3 separate regions of the Homo sapiens genome follow, and all the other regions are linked to region 2. The links are contacts of gene promoters, found by promoter capture Hi-C in blood cells and fetal thymus (Javierre and others, 2016). All regions are on one chromosome and are shown on one strand. The core of a region is centred on a gene start or on the middle of the fragment in contact, and the rest is flanking DNA. Distances in the headings are between cores, read along the strand shown. Region 1 overlaps PDE5A (phosphodiesterase 5A). Region 2 holds the start of USP53 (ubiquitin specific peptidase 53). Region 3 overlaps METTL14 (methyltransferase 14, N6-adenosine-methyltransferase non-catalytic subunit).

What was found. Contacts are between HindIII fragments. The CHiCAGO score rates a contact against its expected background, and 5 or more counts as called.
Region 1: a contact is called between a fragment that was not itself captured here and the fragment with the promoter of USP53 in region 2, in 1 of 17 cell types (neutrophils). The highest score is 6.8, in neutrophils.
Region 3: a contact is called between a fragment that was not itself captured here and the fragment with the promoter of USP53 in region 2, in 1 of 17 cell types (activated CD4 T cells). The highest score is 6.2, in activated CD4 T cells.

What each region holds. Positions count from the first base shown.
Region 1 is chr4:119,505,628-119,509,721 of GRCh38, forward strand. It overlaps PDE5A (phosphodiesterase 5A), which reads right to left. Exons shown (of 21, transcript NM_001083.4): 16 at 1,977-2,077; 17 at 228-305. Among named protein-coding and RNA genes, the nearest start is that of LINC01061, 97 kb to the left of the region's middle. The HindIII fragment of the contact is 584 bases long and covers 1,012-1,595 here.
Region 2 is chr4:119,209,732-119,213,962 of GRCh38, forward strand. USP53 (ubiquitin specific peptidase 53) reads left to right here and starts at 2,982. Exons shown (of 19, transcript NM_001371395.1): 1 at 2,982-3,142. LOC101929762 (a long non-coding RNA gene) reads right to left here and starts at 2,913. Exons shown (of 3, transcript NR_125931.1): 1 at 2,796-2,913. RefSeq lists enhancers at 1-744, 1,900-2,474, 2,597-2,716, 3,048-3,621, 3,327-3,376 and a silencer at 2,847-2,976. The HindIII fragment of the contact is 14,070 bases long and covers 1-4,231 here.
Region 3 is chr4:118,707,418-118,711,301 of GRCh38, forward strand. It overlaps METTL14 (methyltransferase 14, N6-adenosine-methyltransferase non-catalytic subunit), which reads left to right. Exons shown (of 11, transcript NM_020961.4): 11 at 2,581-3,884. The coding sequence ends at 2,885. Among named protein-coding and RNA genes, the nearest start is that of METTL14, 24 kb to the left of the region's middle. The HindIII fragment of the contact is 1,338 bases long and covers 1,947-3,284 here.

The sequences.
Region 1 (4,094 bases), core at 54-2,553, 290 kb after region 2:
TTTTTCTAGAACAAAGGAACAGTTCATTCACTTGGATTTGCAAATGCATTTCTTTTCAAGTAAATATTCAAATTTACTCTTTGTACAACCCTCTGGAGAAATCTGACCGCTTTTAAGATCATCATATTGTAACAAATAATTGCAATAAAAACTAACAGTGAGGAAAAAATAGTGAGAAAATTAACTGGGTAAAAAACTTCAGCTTTAAAGATAGTAAACCTACTTACAAAAACAACTCCTTTTGATGAGGATCTTCCAAATTGAATTGATTTTTTCTTATAAGTTCAAAAAATTCTCCTCGCCTCCTACAATGTTTAAAAAAAAATTGTTAGTTATAATGAGTACCCAGGGTCTTATCCCTTTGGTCCACAAAGACTCATGGACTAAATTTTGGTGAAAAAAAACCTCTGATTTTTTTTCCCATCTTAGAGCCCACTATAAAATCATCATTTACAAATCTTTAATACCTCACTTTCCCCCTTCTATCATTTGCTTTCGATAAAACATTAAACCTCACCTAATTTTTAACTATAGATCACAAATTATGGTAATTTCAATTCTTGAATATTTGTTATTTTAAGAAAAATGAAACAGTATGAGTTAAAAATTTGATGCTGAGAATGATTTCAGGTATTTTAAGTGCATGGCATAATAAGATCTATAGGTTTCAGTTTATCATTTATTTCATGGTAGGGGATAAAAATATCTAAAGTTGTGAAGTGCTTCTGAAGTAAACAAAGACTAGGTAAAGTTTAAAATAAAATAATATTTGTTATTATTCAGTGAATATAATAATATTTGGTGTACAGTGAATACCTCTTTATGTGCCCAGTATTGTTAAGCATTTTGAGAAGGCATAAGACAAAAATTTTTCTTTTCGCAGTGTTTAATATCTACCTGGAGACACAAGACTCAAGAAAAACTTACGTAATAAAACTGATAGTATATGGTTATAAAAAATGAAAAGTATGTTTCATAAGGGTTCAAAGGAGAGACCCATGTGGCCTGTAAAGCTTAGAAAGGCATTGTGGTTACAGGTATTTTTCAAATTCTTGGTAATTTGATAATCCTTATTCTGCAATTATTTTTAATAAACTGAAGTTTACTATTAATATATATTATTTTGTCTTAACCTCAAAATGCTCTAAAAACCAATTAAGTAGGCACATGCAGTTACTTCTAGATGTATAACAGTAGATATCTGGCAGATGTTTTTGTGTTTTTTCTATGTGTTTTTACTTCTCCTAAGAGTAACTACAACCATGAATGTGAATTCCTTACAGAGGGAGAGAGACTCATGTTACAAGGAAATCCTGAGAGTGATTCCCTGACTCCCCTCATTCCCACACATGCGTCAAAGATCTCAGCTAGGAGTTGGAAACTTATGATTGCTCAAATGCAGGAAAGTATTTTCTAGCTTTTAGAAAGGCAGTTTAATCATGAAAATGCATAATCACAGAGACAACTCTAATGTATACTCTTATTTTAGAATCAACAACTTCAAAGTTCTACATAAATATTCTTCTCCTGCCAAAATCAAATAAAAAGAAACAAGAGTTACTTGCTTGGCAGTAACTCCTTTTCCTGCCCAACTAAGCTTGAATGACGGTATAAAGGAGTCATGAAATGGTCAGAAGTTGTGGGGAGCAAGGGAAAGGAGGAAAAGCAAATGATCTATATAATCTTTGGACAACATGGCTTGGAATGACTGACCTTGAGATGGCTATTAGATTTGTATATAGTTTCAGAGACACAGTGGTAGATAAACATCAGAAATAATAGGTATTCTTAATTTTCAGCAGTATAAGCCAAAGGAGTAGACTTTTCTGGCTACCCTTTCAGAAACTGCTCCGTATTCTGATAAGCAGTTTTGCCAGGACATTTCTGCTTTGAAATTTCTCAATATGGATGTCAAAAGTTTGAAACAATGAAAAGACTTCAAATACCTATTTCTCAGGTTATTTCTTAAAACTTACTTAATGTACAGTGCTAGGTCTGTAGCTAAAATAGCTTGCTTGATTATTTTCAACGTGGTCTTATATTCTTCAATGGAGAGGCCACTGAGAATCTGATTGCCCTTTATAAAAAAAGAAAACCAGTATTAACATCCTGGAGAAGCTGCTGACAAGAACAAAATCTAGAAATATATTCACATATCTTAAACACATGCCCAGTATTCTAATGAATGTGGAGGACACACTTAAATACCATGAAATAAAGTTTCCCCTCTATGTTCCCACCCAACCCCTCTGTCATACATGTAAACCGCTTCATAATGCTTCATCTGCCTACATATGCATGTTTTTCCAACTCTTATACTCCTTAAGCCTTAGTCCAGACTTAAAATCTAATAGCTATCCTTTTCCGTAGGGCAGACTAATCGCTATAATTTAACAGCATGTAAAACTTTGAAAAAAAAGCCATATTAATGGATATGAAGAAAGAAGTGGTAAAATTTTTAAACTTCTCTATGGCATTTTAAATAAATCCAGTAACATTTCTGGTGCAAATTTATATAATTTTAACTTGGTCAGTTATGATAACAGTGCATATTCCTTAGGAACATCTTAATATAGATGGGTAAAGGGCATGAGCCAAAGGGTGCTTACTGGTCAGTGGTGAAAGAAAGCGTGGGTTGAAACATCTATAAGGAATATTTAAAAGGTAGCTAATCCATGTGCAAATCATTCAAAGTTTTCACTATGTAACCATTTTTTATTTCTTATCTGTAATTTAAAGCATAGTGGTTCTCTAATCTTGAACTAAGTAAAATACACAGACCATGCACTCAGAATACAATCAAAACAACATCTGTAAGTTGAGTCAGATGTGCTTCCTATATCTTAGGGCCAAGAAAAAACCCAGACGCTTAGGAATGAGATCTGAAGGCAAGGGATTTGTTATGAAGACAGGAGAACTTCTGGGTATGTTAGGCTGGGGCCAAAACACATTGATTAAAGGATAACTAGATGCTGAAATTGTGGCATGGATCTAATTAATGACAATAATCTATAATTACAACCATAAACATTATTTTTAAATACTAAATCATTTTAGATTCTAGGCTAAACAGAAAACTATTCAGAAAATACCTTCTGATACTTACTTTAAGATAAAACAATTTCAAGTGGAAGATGAAATGTCTTTTGGTGCTATATTTTTATTTTTTACTCTCAAAAGCTGAGGATATAATTTCTTGTGTAATTATGCTTACAAAGATAGAATATATAGATAGGTCTTATAATTTGAGCCAGCCATATAGATAATCAGATTCCTTATATATTAAGTAACAACATATTACATAATAAGTTATATAGTAACAGGTCAGTTGATAGGAATACTGTAAAATATGCTTTTAAAAAAGCATATTTTCTTTCTTTGGAGCTAAATTTGTAGTGGGATACTGAAATGAAAGTTTTAGTGGAAACACACAGATAGCAAAAGTACAGATGTTCCTACTATAACATGACATATACATTCCTGAGAAATTTCAGTTCTGAAAAACCGTACACTAAAAATAACATGGATTTTGTGAAAAAATGGTATTGGGAAAGACCACTCAAAACCTATGCAACTTTGTAACCAGAGCACAAACTAAACCAAGAATTGGTTCCTCTGGAAGTAACTTGGACAGGCCAGTCTGGCAGGTCTGGAGGCTGCTTCTGAGGACATTAAAGATGGACAAAAACAATCAAGTAGAAATGCTGGTTTGAGGGGCCCTGCAATAATGCATATAGAATTGATTGTTGAGACAGTAACTCTGCTATTAAGGTGGGCATTGAAAGAAGAGCAAGCTACCAAGAGGCTACAGCAGTCCAAAGCGAGGGAGAGAGCCTCAGGTGCAAGTGCTCATTTTTAATATTCCTAAGATAGAATGGAAAGGGCTGTATATGCACGAGCCAAAGGGAGGGCTTTTTCCTTTATTGCTGAAGGTCAGAATTCAACTTCTATAATTCTGGCACCTCTTACCCCAGAGAAGTCGTGTATGAAATGATAGAACGTCTATAGTATACTGATACCATTCTTCTACCTCCCAATCACACATGATATAATTCACATTAAACAGTCACATGTTGTAGAAAAACAATCTGTAC
Region 2 (4,231 bases), core at 1,732-4,231:
TTCTGTCTAGTATCTAACCCTGAGTCAGTCATTGATCTACTACTTCCCTATGCTATATTTCACTCTACCCCACCCAGCTCAGTCATGGTTAAGCTGTTGATTACCTCCTGGAACTACTGGGTTACAGCTCCGCAGGACACAATGTTGCTATTCCTACCAGACATTAGTGGCAGGGTGCATCTAGCCACAGGGTAGCACATTTCTCAAAGTCTGAGTTATAATCAATCCAGAATAACACTAAGAGGTGTGTATATGTGCTGGTGGTGTGAACTTTGGCTAAGCCTCAGCTGAATGATCTAGGGTATTCTTTGGCATGCCAAGCCTGCTCCCTTTCATGATCTCTTTGCCTGTGTGAGGTGCAGAGATTGGTCTTCACAAATTTGGGTCCAGCCAATCAGAAACTAGGGAATCAAACCCACACACGTCCCTCAAGGACAAATAGTAAGAATTAAAATATTTTAAATCCTTGTTGTGACTTTCCCAATTACAAATTTTCTGGGAGCAACAGCTGTCCTGCAATGTCAATTTTCCATTTTTTCATGTTTGCTTCAGACTCTGCCCTCTTGATGCTTAAATTGGGTCCTATTACAACTCTACCATTTAAGGATCGGTACATAGATATGCTAAAAACTGGTAGAAAGTATGAAATTATATAATTTTAAAAGTGTATAGTCAGGGTTTAGTCAAATTCTTGAGCAGGGTGAACTGAAGGGTATTCTTCTGTAATTGCTAAATAAGGAAGGGAGGTAGTATAAGCCATTATTATCCACAGTTCAAATTATTTCTCAAGGGTGGAGGTGGGGGTTACTCTGTCAGGTACATTTGCAGAGAAATAAATATAGTACAACATAATTGTTATAAAAATAAGTCCCAAAAGGGATGACAATTTTGTCTCAGAAAGTTATGAAAAGATCCATGGAGATAAGCATTCGAGAGAGAACCAAAGGATCTTGAGAGAACCAAGAACATAGAAAGCAAGGACTTTAGAAAGATTAATGTGGAGGAACTGGAGGAAGAATGGCGATGAGTTTAACAGTGTGATCATGAAAGGCCCTGCCGGTGGGTAATGAAAAATTCTTAGCAGAGAAGTATAATGATCGTATTTTCACGTTAGAAAAATTATTAATAGAATGGAGGTTGGACTGGTGTGGGAAATAACTAGAGGATATCTTGTGAATATTGCAATAGTACAAGGAAGATGAGTCATAAGAGATGGTGATTACTTGAAGGACTAAGACAGTGAGAGTGGAGGGGTGGACCTGAGAGATACTTAAGGAAATAAGAGTCAAAATTTGATATTAGAAAAGAGGAAATGAAGGAAAAGTAACAGGGGTACTCATAGATTTCTGACTTGGGCAGTTGCGTGTCATTTTCTGAAACAGGGAATGGAAATGGTGTAGGTTCCAGATGGGTGAAGAGGGACATGGCATCAGGAACAGATTATAGTAAAGATGTCCATGTCAATTTGGGACATATTTAAGATACTGTGTGAAATCCAAAGGATGTTGCTTAAAAATGTCCGACGTATAGATATACACCTGAGAGTTCTTGGTGCACAGGACACGTGGTAGGTAAATCCATGATGGGAAAGAGACTGCTCAAGGAGACATGGATTAACATTAAACAGAAACAGCAAAAGAAAATGGAGTGCTGGCGAACAGAGACCACGCAGCGGAAAAACAGTATTTAAAGTGCACCAGAAAAGTAGCTGCAGAATGAGGAGAAAATGACATTAGAGAAACGGAGGGAAGAGTTAATGGTGTGCTCTTATTGTTTTAAAAATGCAGAGTAGGATCTTTTTTTCCCCCACCCCTCCCAAAGTTTTTAATATTTTGAGGGCAGAAACCACGGCTTTATTTCATCCTATTTCTGACAGTGCCTAGTTCAGTAAAGGGAACATAGTAAATGCTCAATAAATTCTTAATGATTCAGCCTCAGACATTACAAACGGGTCCTATTTGTCTCCTGTATCAACGACCAATATTTCTTCCCCCTCTTTCTTCAAATAAACTTTTAGAAGTGCCTCTGGGTTTACTGAAATCCATTTTTACAATTAGTATGTTCAACTTACACCAGCTTTGGAATGAGTTCCAAAACCTTCTTTATTTACTTGAGAGATATTCGGTATCAGTGACGATGGGTTTTTCCTTTACTACTATTCCTAAGAAAGGTTTATTCAAAATCAAAGTTTAGCCCAATTCCCAGCAGTACCTTTTAACTTAAAACCTGTTCGAAAGCACGGCAAAGAGGCGGACAGACTTTTCTGACAATCATTAACCAGGTCAACAGACTTATTAAAGCTATCTAATTAAAGGCAAGAAACAACTGCTTGGGGAATACACATTCACGCCACAGGAAGCCATTTAACTGCAAATAGATCGTCTAACGACTCACGGAAATCTAAAGGAAACTGCGTGTCCGCATGGGGTTCTGATGCCAAACTACGGATTGTTCTCTCAGGTAACACCTAACCTAAGTGAAGTCCTTGGTGGATCCGCGTTCTTGAGCTTAGAAAATACCGAATGAACTACCAAGAGCACCAGAATAATCGCCTCCTCCTGAAGAACTAGCCTCTTTCTCACCACACCAGACAGCACGTCCTACAACCACCTTTCCCCCAACAACCAAACTCCAGCGCCAAGCTGCCGCTTTTGCAGAAATGTTCTATCTCTTGGTCTCGCGCGATCTCGCGCCTCCGAGGAAGCCAACTGTATCGCGCACGCCATCAAATCCCCGCGGGAATAGAATTCCGCAGGTCCAGAAAGCCGGGAAATCGCGAGCGGAGGCGGAGTTACCTCGGTGAGCGTGAAGGCGGAGCCCGCTCCGAGGGGCGGGCTCGAGGCGGGGAGAGGGGCGGGGCTCCAGGGACCTGTTGATCGCAGGTGTCACTGGCCTGACTGGTCCCTGGGTATTGGGGCGTATGCGCATGCTCCGCTCACAGGGTCGGGCTCTGGGCGGCGGAGACCAGCCGCCTGTGCTCCAGTTCCCGGTGAGCCTCGGTACTGTGGCAGCAGTCAGTGTGTCTGGCGGGTGTCGGCGTGAAGCGGGGCTGGGCCAGCGGGAGGTAGCTCTGTGGGAGTGGAAGGCCTGTATTTCTCTACCTGGACCGCACGCTCCTCGCGCAAGGAGGGTAGAGCTCAAGGTAAGTCTCCGAAACTAGCCCTCTGGTTGGAGATCCAGAGACCTGCGACCCCCGCGGGCCTGACCGGGACACTCTCATTCTAGCCCCAGAGCTCGTCTCTCCCCTCGCAGCCCGGCGACCTCCTATGGCCCCGGCCCTCTGGGCACACACACACTCTCTTTGCTGGGCGGTTCAGACGCCAGAGGTCACGCAGCCCTTTCGCCCCTTCTCGCCGCGTCTGGCGGAGATGCCTCTGGCCAGGCTGGAGGCGCTCGCGAGGCGGGAGGAGGTGCTGTACTTGTTGGGTCCTGGATGTTATTGCTGCCGTGTTTGAGGGCGGCGACAAGCTGGAGTCCTGCTGGGATTGTGAGTAATACCCTTACTTGGCTCCTGCCCCTGGCTGTCCAAGCCACATTGCCTCGCCTGAGCACACAGTTTTTTACTTAAAGGGGTCCAGGATGGTTATGCTCCCTCCTTGGAGAAGAGAGATGACTGGACTCGTGAGATTCTTGGGGTGGTGGTTTCTCAGTGGTAGTGGTGATGTATATAAAGTTAATGTTTAGCTTCTAAAGGGCGGCTTACGGGGCATTTACCAAACTATTTTTAAACAGTGTTGGAGAACAGGAAGTACTTGCACAGGTGTAATAGGGAGGGTTTCTAAAACCTGCAATCTGAGGATGTTTTGAGGTTTGTAACCCTGCTACAAGGTTTTCTTTATCAATGCAAAGTATGCAGGGAATTACCAGTTGGACAGCAAAGTTTTCCGAAAGTTTCCTTATCTGGAAATAGATATATATATATATATATATGTGTGTGTGTGTATGTATGTATGTATAAATATATATATTTGCAAAGAATATCTAAGGCTATTTTTGAGGTAGGTTTAATAGTAAACTTAACCTGTAGTCCCAGCTACTCGGGAGGCTGAGGCAGGAGAATTGCTTGAACCGGAGGTTGCAGTGAGCCGAGATCGCGCCACTGCATTCCAGCAGGGGCGACAGAGCCAGACTCCGTCTCCAAAAAACAAACAAACAAACAAAAAAACGCAGTACACTTAGGAAGGTTTTTGTGATTAAGATCTGATTCACTTTTAGTTATTAAAAGAAAAGG
Region 3 (3,884 bases), core at 1,366-3,865, 500 kb before region 2:
CTTTGGGAGGCCAGGGTGGGCAGATCACTTGAGGTCAGGAGTTTGAGACCAGCCTGGGCAACATGGTGAAACCCTGTCTCTACTAAAAATACAAAAATTAGCTGGGTGTGGTGGTGTGTGCCTGTAATCCCAGCTACTTGGGAGGCTGAGGCAGAAGAATCACTTGAACCTGGGAGGCAGAGGTTGCAGTGAGCCGAGATTGTGCCACTGTACTCCAGCCAGGGTGACAGAATAAGACCCTGTCTCAAAAAAAAAAAAAAAAAAAAGACCTTAGTTTATTAAGTTGCTCCTCAAACACACTTCTTCCTCAAGGACATAGCCTAAGGTATTTCACATATACCTTAGGAATACAATTTACCATTGCTTTAAAATAAAATTTACAGATAACTATGTGAGTCAAATACACTCTGAAGCCAGACAATTTTTTTTTTTTTTTGAGACAGGTTCTCACTCTTGTTCAGGCTGGAGTGCAGTGGCACGATCTTGGCTCACTGCAACCCCCGCCTCCCAGGTTCAAGTGATTCAGCCTCCTGAGTAGCTGGGACTGCAGGCGTGTGCCACCACACCTGGCTAATTTTTTGTATTTTTAGTAGAGATGATGTTTCACCATGTTGGCCAAGCTGGTCTCGAACTCCTGACCCCAAGTGATCGCCCGCCTTGGCCTCCAAATTGCTGGGATTACAAGTGTGAGCCACCACACACCCAAGCCAGACTATTTTAAACTTACTCTGTTCTTAGTAATACCTTTAGAATTTCTGATAAAACACAATGTTGCTGTGCAGAATTTGGAAGAGAGGGGAATCCCTTGGACTTCTATAGCCAGTTTACTCTGCAAGGATTTCCATGTTTTACGTAAGAGACAGTATAGCAAGGGAGACAGAGTATTAGTTATTTTTATTATATCTTTAAATTTTCTGTTTCTTATTCCTTGTTTGTGGTGTTGTGTTCCACATATATTGAATATTATCTTCCATAATACCACAAACATGCCAAAAAACAAACTAGAAGGCAGCAAATAAAAATCTCATAGGTTTAATAGTCAGTGAGAGCCCATAGGTGTGGAATGTGCTCTTGATCATGGTATCTGCCAGGTAATACATAAAAGACACAGTATAATTAACCTTTTTTTCTTCAACTATTACAAATCTTACTGTATTCATGCACTTTTAGAAACTAAAAATGTTTTAAAAAACAATGAACTAAGTATTGTACAGAAATGGCTACTGTATTTTAGAATGTGATCCTAGTGAAATATTTTTCATTTTATAGCTTTTTATGATGCATCTACTTTTCTAAGAAATAACCTAAGGATGATGGGGCAGATATATTATAAACCTAACTTTGCAGATAAATAACCTAATTCTTACAGATAATTGGACCTGTCCCAAATAATGCTGTGTCTCTTATAATGCTCCAGAGGCATATTTTCAGGGTCCCCTACAAAGGGCATGTCTGTAAGAGTCACCACACCCAAAGAACCCCAGAGCACCGTGTCTGTATTGGGTATTTGTAGTTCCTTCCATTCTAAAGACAGTTTAATCAATCAGAAAATATCCTTATTACAAGAAAAGTTGTCTAGCAATATAATTGGCAAAATAGCTGTTTACCTACAGAAGTATAATGTGCAGTGGAAATTCTGAGAAAGAAGAAATAATTTTCATTTCATGTAAGAAATATATTTGAATTGGATGTTGAAGGGTGGGATTTTTAACAGGTTGACAGGATAGAAAAGAAAATAATATGGGCACAAAAATCGGGGTTAGTATAGAAGCAGTTACTATAGTAGTTCATTGTTTTCCTTAGAGGTTCATGAAAAGCATTAATGAGAAATGTTATTGGAAAGTTCATTCAGCCATCATTGTAAAAGATCTTAGATTTTATATTTATGAATTTGGGCTTTGTGGAAACAGTTGGAAGGTTTTTGAGCAGAGAAGTGACATGTTTTAAGCTTTGCTTTAGGCTTTCCACTTTTAGAGGGAGGAGAAGCTATAGGTTGGGAGATCATTACAGTATATATGTGTGTCTGTTACACATGTGTTATATGGTAGGGTATTGACCTTGTAAAAAAAAATAAAGGCTTAAATTTGAGGGTGGCAGCAGAAATGGAAAGATAGGAATGAGTGGGAGTAACATGGTAGTGGTTGAATTTCTCAGACCTATCAACTGAGAATATTTTCTAGTTAGCAAGTGTAGAGCAAAAGTTGGTTCCAAGATTTTAATCAGAAAATGGCACCATTTACATAAATAGGAAGATTATATATAATTTATTACAGTTTCACTAAACCCAAACTCAGTGTAATGTATGGGATTTTTTTTCTCTAAGTTCTATTCTCACAAAAGATAGTACGTGGATGAGGAGGATATATTACAAAAGTTACAATCTAGGAGGAGAAACAAGATATATACCTGTGAAATCTTTAAAACATGACCACAATTAAGTGCCATTCTGTAAAAGAGATCAGTATTGGATGAATGATGGGGACATCTTTAAGAATGCATTGGGGATTTGAACTAGCTTCTAAAGAATTAATAAGAGAGAATTGCAAATAAAAAGTATAATCTTTTTTTCCTCCATTTCAGGCTGGCTCACAGTTGGACCAACGCTTACAAATAGCAACTACAATGCAGAAACATATGCATCCTATTTCAGTGCTCCTAATTCCTACTTGACTGGTTGTACAGAAGAAATTGAGAGACTTCGACCAAAATCGCCTCCTCCCAAATCTAAATCTGACCGAGGAGGTGGAGCTCCCAGAGGTGGAGGAAGAGGTGGAACTTCTGCTGGCCGTGGACGAGAAAGAAATAGATCTAACTTCCGAGGAGAAAGAGGTGGCTTTAGAGGGGGCCGTGGAGGAGCACACAGAGGTGGCTTTCCACCTCGATAATTGTTGAAGACATTGAACCTATTCATCCTCCTCTAACCTTCTTTATTGTAATTAAATTTCAAGTGGGAGACTTAACTTTAGAACTCACTTCCAGCTTGCACTTTGCTTTAATTTCTCTGAGCTGCAAGAATGTCTTAGCGAGCCTTGCTTGCAGTTGTCACACACACTGTCTGGTTTTTTTCAGGATAAATGAATGATTCTGCCTTTTGTTATGTGCGTGAACAGAATGGAACAACTCAAGTAGCTTCATCTTCAGAGACTGAATTTATTCTGATAGACTTCAGCTAATTACAAAGGATTTTGCTAATTTTTGGGAATAAATAATGGAAAAAGATCCAGTCTGTGGTATCATGCTAGTGCTGACAGGGCCTTGATAGAATAGAGTTGGAAAAGATGGTAAGCTTTTGTCAGGGTTTTAACATTTTCTTGATGAAACAATAAAAAGAGGTAAGCTTTTTTCTTCTTTTTTTTTAAGTTTTAAATAAACTCAGATATAATTTGAATACTGAAGAAATTAAGAGACTTTGAACAAAAACTCTTCCCAAATCTAAATTTGATAGGGGAGGTGGAGATTCCAGGGGTGGGTGAAAGAAGAGATAGAACTTAGCAGGCAGACTTAAAAAAAAAAAAAAAGTTTATCATCATAATCTCAATTTTGTGGCTATGACTCCTAATCACGCTTCCTAAGAAGCAAAGGAGGACAAATATTCATGTGCTAGATAGCACTGTGGTGTGGACTTGAACTTGGATTGACCTTAAATTTTATATTCCTCAAATAAAAGAGAGGCAGCGACAAGATACCTCATTATCAGATGCTTGGTTTATACATTTTGGGACTAAAATACTTGGTGATGAAATGACATACACCTTTAAACTTGTTATGGAGATAGTTTAATGTAAAACCAACTACGGAAAACCCTCAACTTAAGGATACAGCTTGGAAATTGGAACTGCAATTGCCTTTTATTAAAACCATATGGTGTGATGTTTGTTTTTAAA